Linked DNA regions of Homo sapiens: region 1 is linked to region 2. Evidence: promoter capture Hi-C in human tissues and cell types (Jung and others, 2019). All regions are on one chromosome and are shown on one strand. The core of a region is centred on a gene start or on the middle of the fragment in contact, and the rest is flanking DNA. Distances in the headings are between cores, read along the strand shown. Region 1 overlaps KSR2 (kinase suppressor of ras 2). Region 2 holds the start of RFC5 (replication factor C subunit 5).

Region 1 (3,780 bases), core at 554-3,053, 160 kb before region 2:
GTTAGTATTCAGGTATTAAAAATAAGAAGTGAATGCATTTATTGACAAAGGAAGATGTTTATGACAACACTGTAATTTGGTGCAATTTTTTTTAAGACAGGACCTCACTCTGTGGGCCAGGCTGGAGTTCAGTGGTACTATCTCAGCTTGCTGCAGACTTGACCTCCAGGACTCAAGCAATCCTCCCACTTCAGCCTCCCAAGTAGCTAGGACTACAGGCGCATGCCACCACACCCAGCTAATTTTCTTTTTTTGGTAGAGGTAGAGTCTCTTTATGTTGCCCAGGCTGGTCTCAAACTCCTGGGTTCAAGCAATTCTCCCACCTTGGCCTCCCAAAGTGCTGGGATTACAGGTGTGAGCCACCATGCCTAGCCTGCAATTTTTTTTTAAAGAGAGAAAACTGCCATCTGCTTCTCACTGTGGGTAAAGAGAGAAAGTCACCTTTGGAGCAGATTTTGTATGTACTGAGTGACTGAGAGGCCCCTCCCTGTCAGCCACACTCATGTTGGGTGAGTCAACACCATTGTGCTAGAGGTAAAGAGTAACATGACCTTTACAGCTCGTCAGCCAGGAGTGATTTTGCCTCCCTGGGAACATTTTGAAATATCTGGGGATATTTCCATGTGTCATGACTTTGAGTTGGGGGATGTTACTGGTATCTCATGGGCAGAGGTCAAGGATGCTTCTAACCAAACATCCTTCAACACATAAGACAGCCCCCAGTGCATGGTCTGCCCCCCATTTTATTTTTGAGACAGGATCTTGCTCTGTCACCCAGGCTGGAGTGCAGCAGTGTGATCATAGCTCACTGCAGCCTCAATCAATGTCCTGGGCTCAAGTGATCCACCAGCCTCAGCCTCCCGAGTAGCTGGGACTACAGGCGTGTGCCACCACACATGGCACATTTTTTTGTATTTTTTGTAGAGACGGGGTTTCGCCATGTTGCCCAGGCTGGTCTGGAATTCCTGAGCACAAGAGATCCTCCTGCCTTGGCCTCCCAAAGTGCTGGGATTACAGGCGTGAGCCAGTGTGCCCGGCCGCATGGTCCCTTTTGATGCTGACTGTACCTGAATCAGGATCTGCCAGCAAGAAAAAATACAAAAGGGCACGCATGGAGGACTGGGCCGATGACCTGTTTCAAGTATGTTCTGTTTTGTTCACCGCTGCCTTCTCAGCCCTGCTGGCACCCCATAGCCACTCAGATTAGAAGACTTCTCCAGGCCTAGAACAATATTCAACAAATGCTTGTTGAATAGAGCAGGTTGAATCAAGCAAGGGCATCTGTGAGCCTCCACCTGACTCTGCCAGACTGATGCTCAACAGTGACACCTTGTGGTGGGAACTGCAACAACCGTGCTGATGGCCACTAACACTTCTCCGTGGCTGGCATGTGCAGAGCGGATCCCTTGGGACAGAAAGGCCCCAGAATTTGCAGAAAAATCATGAGGCTAAAGAGAAGCAGGAAGCCTCAGGAAGATGATATCTGATGTTCTGCTAATAAAGACAAACAGGTATCTGAGCAATTAATGGAAAAGATCCAGGAGGGATGACAATATATTTGGCCCCCAAACTGATAGAACAAGTCACAGAGGTTATTTTATTAGGTGAAAAAAAAAAAAATTTAAGCAATATGTGTGGATAATTCTATTTTTTAAAGTATACATATATCCATTTGTCAGGAAAAATTATACCAAAATGACAAGAGCAGTTACCTAGAGGGTGGAGCTTAGGGTGATTTTTTTAAAATCTATTTTCTGGTTTATGTTACAATTAATGCAAATTACTTCTGTTAAAAAAAAAATTAGAAGCTAGACATTGACCCAAAATGCAAAGCCACGTCAGAATGTCTAAAGTAAAAAGACCCTGGTCTCCTATTCACACTCAATATTTTCATATCTGGACCCTAATTATCCAGAACCAGATACCCTAAACCTCAGCGGGTCTTCCTGGGGCAAGAGTTCAAATCCAAGAGCTGCCCTTGCTGGTGTCTTCCGGCCTCCAAATCCCAGGTCCACGCTGCCTCTTCCTGCGTTTCGGATTTGCCCCCCAGGGTTGACTCTGTCTCGTCCTGGCCTGCAGTGGCGGGCACGGGATGCCGAGGGACCGCGGCAGCTGTGCTGGGGACAAGTCTCCACATCCCCGACCCCGGGGCCTGCTCACCTGACATGTGGACATTCCTGAGGCAGGAGAGGGAGGCGTTGAGGCGGGCACACTCCTCCCGGTTGGCTCCGTATTTCTCCACAGTCTCGCACACCTGTTCATCCGTCATCTCCAAGAGGTCCTCCAGGCTCAGCTGGCCGGGGGAGATTTCCTAGAGGAGGGGAGAAGGATTGTCAACCGTGGGGCAGGAACAGCATCTCTGCCTCCACGCTGCCCTGTAGTGGTGCCTAGAGGAGAACACTCCGCAGTGTAAACGCTTTGCATGACAGTGGGGTCTCCGAATCTCGGGTTTGCCACTCATTATCTAGATAACCTCTGACCAGTCGCTCAACCTCTCTGGGCCTCACTTTGCTCATCTGTAAAGTGGGACTCCTAAGTGTCCATACTTGGCAAGGTAGCGCAGGTGCTTAGTGCTATTATAATTACTACCCTGTCTGGCGTCAACACTGTGCCTGTCTCTCGAATGTTTATAAGGCAGGGCCCCATTTTTTCATGTTTGCTTGGCTCTCAGTGCCTCCCACTCTGCAGGGACTCATCTAAAATCCCAGCACAAACTCAGAGCAAGCACAGGACAAGGCAGGTGTGCTGGTGGCTGGGTCCCACTCTCTCTCTGCTTCCTCTCTTCTCTGGCTGCAGGGTCTAGGGCTCACACTGGTCTTCAGAAACCCTAATGGAAAAGGGGCTGAAAGTCCATGCCCCGTGCTGGAAATGAAACTAGGTTTGTTTTTGAGCCCCATGGGGCATGGCTTTGCATCCTAAGGCAAAGCAGAAACACTGGAGTATAGCGTGGAGTGGGGGAAAGGGACCTAGAAAAGGTAGGATTCCCAACTTAACGTGTTGGGCAGGTGAACTTTCACCGCCACCCCATGTTCCCAAAACAGTGTCTCCCTAGACCATCATATGGACACACCTCAAAATTTGTCAAGCTTCTATATTTATGCATCAGTATCTGTATGTATATATGAGTCTTCTTTTATAGCACTTACTACTCAACATTTTAACATATATTGTTATTACTTAAGGGTTTTTTGCCTTTTTTTGTTTTTTGTTTATTTGTTTGTTTGTTTTGAGACAGTCTCGCTCTTGTTTCCCAGGCTGGAGTGCAATGGCGCGATCTCGGCTCACTGCAACATCCACCTCCCGGGTTCAAGCGATTCTCCTGCCTCAGCCTCCTAAGTAGCTAGGATTACAGCCACTCACCACCACGCCTGGCTAATTTTTGTATTTTTAGTAGAGACAGGGTTTCACCATGTTGGCCAGGCTGGTCTCAAACTCCTGACCTCAGGTGATCTGCCCACCTCAGCCTCCGAAAGTAAATAAGGGTGAAATAGCCTACGGATGGTGTTTCTAGGGCAGTATTGCGGAATACATCTACCCTCTTGTGGTCATGTTTGTGTATTACAACAAGATACAGCTCCCACATTAAACTGATAGCCAGAAAGAAGAAAACTGTCTCAGTACAAAAAATTATCTTCAAAAATATGAGCTATGGTGCCTTTTCAACTCACCCAGGCAGGCAGGGGGCAGAGAGAGAAGAATAGTGGAGTCACTTAGAGGCTTTCTCAAATAGGGACACATTGCTGGTGAGCCCCTTTAAGAAAGGTGATGACCACGGATCTG
Region 2 (3,536 bases), core at 93-2,592:
TCCTGGGAGCAAGCAGAGTAGGGGCACTGTCACATCACAAGCCCTAGCTGATCCCCTTCTTCGGGGTCCCCAGGCAGGGGCTAGGGTGAAGCCATAACTGCCATCACATACTTGCCACTGTCCCTCTGCTGTGTTCCTGAAGCAGGTGACAGTGATGTAATCCTATGCAAAGAGTATTGCTACCTCCTAATCAGAACACTGCTGACCCCAGGCCAGCCTCAAAAATCCTCCAGGATTTTTGTCTTCCTCATCATGTTAAAAGAAAAAAAAAAAGAAAAGACTTCAATATGGATGCTTTGCATGCTCATTGCTGGAAAATACAGACCAGGCCAGGCGCAGTGGCTCACGCCTGTAATCCCAGCACTTTGGGAGGCTGAGGCGGGTGGATCACTTGAGGTCAGGAATTCGAGACCAGCCTATCCAACATGGCAAAATCCCATCTCTACTAAAAATACAAAAATTAGCCAGGCGTGGTGGCGCGCGCCTGTAATCCCAGCTTCTCCGGAGGTTGAGGCAGAGAATCGCTTGAACCCGGGAGGCAGAGGTTGCAGTGAGCCGAGATAGCGCCACTGCACTCCAGCCTGGGTGACAGAGCAAGACACCAAAAAAAAGAAAAGAAAATACAGACCAACAAAAAAGAAGAAAATAAAAGTGATCTAGAATTCTCCTCGCCTCAGGAAAAAAACCTAAAATGTTGATATCGATTCTCCTCAGTATCTCAGATCACAAGGACCTTGTCCTCTGTGTTCATGAACTAGACCTTCCAGCGACACAGATTAACCCAACTGGAAGTTTCTGTTTGTTTTTCTCTGGAGTCGTTTTCTGGAGGTTGGTTCCCTAAACTTTTTGGGCGAGGGGCACGGATTCCGGAGATAGGTAGGTTGCAGTTGTGTTTGTTTGGGGTTGTTTTCATTTCCAAATATTCACCTCCCAGCTTGGGGGCCGAGAGGTATCTCAAGCCTTCTTTCGCAAAGGCATCTATATTCAAGACCCAGCCGTTTTACTCGGTGTTGTTTTTTTTCTTAGATTTTTTTTTTTTTTTTTGAGCCCCGGCAGCTTTTGTTCCTTTGAATTTAAGTGTTTGAAGCTTGGCGATGGCAGGAATTGGCTTTGGCCTTGAGATCTTAATATGTAATGATGACTGGGGCTGCAGGGGGCCCTGCCTCTCCCGCTGCCCTGCTCTGGAAGCGCCTGGGTATCTGAGAGTTCAGAGCAGGCTGGAGGGGCGGAGCTTGGAGGGACGCTGGCGGCCCGCGCCTCCGGTAACCTAGCAACCGACGCCCTAGCAACGCGAGGGGGCGGGACCGAGGGAGGAAGTCGGAAACTGGTGGCCGCGTCTCGCGAGAGTTGCTTTTGCGCGCGAACTGTAAGTGCCAGGGTCTCAGGGTCAGGTCGCGGCTGGTCACTGTGCAGGCGCTTGGGTGACGCGACGATCTCAGCGGATCTGGTCACCTTCGTCTCCCCGCCATGGAGACCTCAGCACTCAAGCAGCAGGAGCAGCCCGCGGCGACCAAGATCAGGAACCTGCCCTGGTAGGAGGAGGCCGAGCGGCGGCGGTGGGCAGAGGGGGCCAGGCGGCCGCGCGGGGAGGAGGTGGCTGGGGTGGCAGGTGACCGGACCCCAACCCGACCTCTTCCCGTCGTCTCCAGGCCTGCAGCCGGGACCGACCTGCAGAGGTTTCCCCCGACACCCCCCAGCTACCCAGACTCGTCCGTTCTGTTTAGGGCTTTTGCCAGTTCTCACCCTTTCACCCCCAGCTCCATTTGCCGAAGAAGAAGGCGGCTTTCGCACCTGGTGACAGCACAGGGGTTCGATCCCGCGTCTCCTGACGCCTGCAATGGCCTCCATGCCAAAATGCCCTCTTCCCACTCTTCAAAACCTGCGATGCGACTATTGGTCACATTTTAAACTAGTAATAACGCTCCCTGGTCAACTTTTATTGAATGGCATATTATTAGATTAGCAGACGCCCTGTTAGATGTTCGATCCTTACAAAGACCGTAGGAGGTAGGCACCGCTTCAAATTTTACACAGGAGGAAACTGCATTTTAGAAAGATGTAATGACTTCCCTATGGTCCAAGGGAGAAAATTGGCTTGGAGGTGAATCTAGGAAGTCTGAATTCAGATCTTGTACTCTTAACCATCCTACTTAAACAGCTATGTTCTCGCAATGCTTCCAAGACTTTGAAGCAATTTGGCTTGGCTTCGAAAAGCTGCAAGTTGTCATTGTCTAGTAACTAGTTCAATTTGTCTTTATTGTGGTTAAAAAAAACCCAGAAGATTGACAGTTGTAACTATTTTATGTATTTACGTATTTTTTTTTTTTAGAGACAGGGTCTCGCTCTGTCGCCCATGCTGGAGCGCAGTGGTGTGATCACAGCTCAGTGTAACCTCAAACATTGGGGTTCAAGCCATTCTCCTGCCTCAGCCTCCGAAGAACTGGGACTTTTAGAGGCGAGCTACCAAGCCCATCCTGTAACCATTTTAAAATGTACAATTCAGTGGCATTAAGTACATTCAGAATGCAGTGTACTGTTGTGGAGTCTTCCCGCTATCTAGTTCCAAAATTTCATCACCCCAAATGGAAATCCTTTACCCATTGACAGTTACTCCCCATTCTCCCCTTCCTCTAGCCCCTGGCAACCACTAATCTGCTTTCTATCTATGGATTTGCCTATTCTGGACATTTCATGTAAGTGGAATCCTACACTATGTGGCCTTTTGTGTCTGGTTTCTTTCACTCAGGATCATGTTTTCAAGGTTCATGCATGTTGCTGCTTGTATCAGTAGTTAATTTCTTGTTATGGCTGAATCATATTCCATTGTATGGACAGAAGAGATTTTACCTATCCATTCTTCTGTTGAAGTCTATTTGGGTAGGAGTTCAGTTTCAAATGCACTTTGCAATAGTAGGTGCCCATCAGGTTGAGATTATAGGCAAACAGCTGGAAAGATGAAGTTAGAACAGAGTTTTCAACCTCAGCACTATTGACATTTTGGGCCAGATACTCTGGGTGGGTTTAGGGGAGCTGTCCTGTGCACTGTAGCATGTTTAACAGCATTCCTGGAGACTACACACTGAGTGCCATAGGACCCTCTGCCCACCTGTGACAACTAAGTATGTTTCTAGATATCACTAGATGTTCCTAGGAAGACAAAATCACCTGTGGTTGGGAACCACTGGTCTGTTCAAACTTAAAGTGCTTTCTTATTCTTCCTTTTTAAATTAGGATATGAAAGGATTCTGTTTTTTTTTTTAAGACAAGGTCTCACTCTGTCGCCCAGGCTGGAGTGCTGGAGTGCAGTGGTGCAATCTCGGTTCACTGCAACCTCCGCCTCCCGGGTTCCAGCAATTCTCCCACCCCAGCCTTCGGGGTAGCTGGGGCTACAGGGGTATGCCACCATGCCCAGCTAATTTTTGTATTTTTTGGTATTTTTTATTGAATGGCATATTATCGGGTTAGCAGACACCCTGTTAGTTGTTCTATCCTTACAAAGACCCTAGGAGGTACCCATAGAGACAGGGTTTTGCCAT

What was found. Contacts are between HindIII fragments. The study calls those that stand out against the background at their distance.
Region 1: a fragment that was not itself captured here is called in contact with the fragment with the promoter of RFC5 in region 2 in 2 of the 25 tissues and cell types used here (mesendoderm cells and thymus).

What each region holds. Positions count from the first base shown.
Region 1 is chr12:117,853,268-117,857,047 of GRCh38, forward strand. It overlaps KSR2 (kinase suppressor of ras 2), which reads right to left. Exons shown (of 20, transcript NM_173598.6): 3 at 2,161-2,311. Among named protein-coding and RNA genes, the nearest start is that of KSR2, 110 kb to the right of the region's middle. The HindIII fragment of the contact is 3,711 bases long and covers 1-3,659 here.
Region 2 is chr12:118,015,361-118,018,896 of GRCh38, forward strand. It overlaps RFC5 (replication factor C subunit 5), which reads left to right and starts at 1,343. Exons shown (of 11, transcript NM_007370.7): 1 at 1,343-1,532. The coding sequence starts at 1,468. RefSeq lists an enhancer at 1,051-1,220 and a silencer at 1,585-1,634. The HindIII fragment of the contact is 13,218 bases long and covers 1-3,536 here.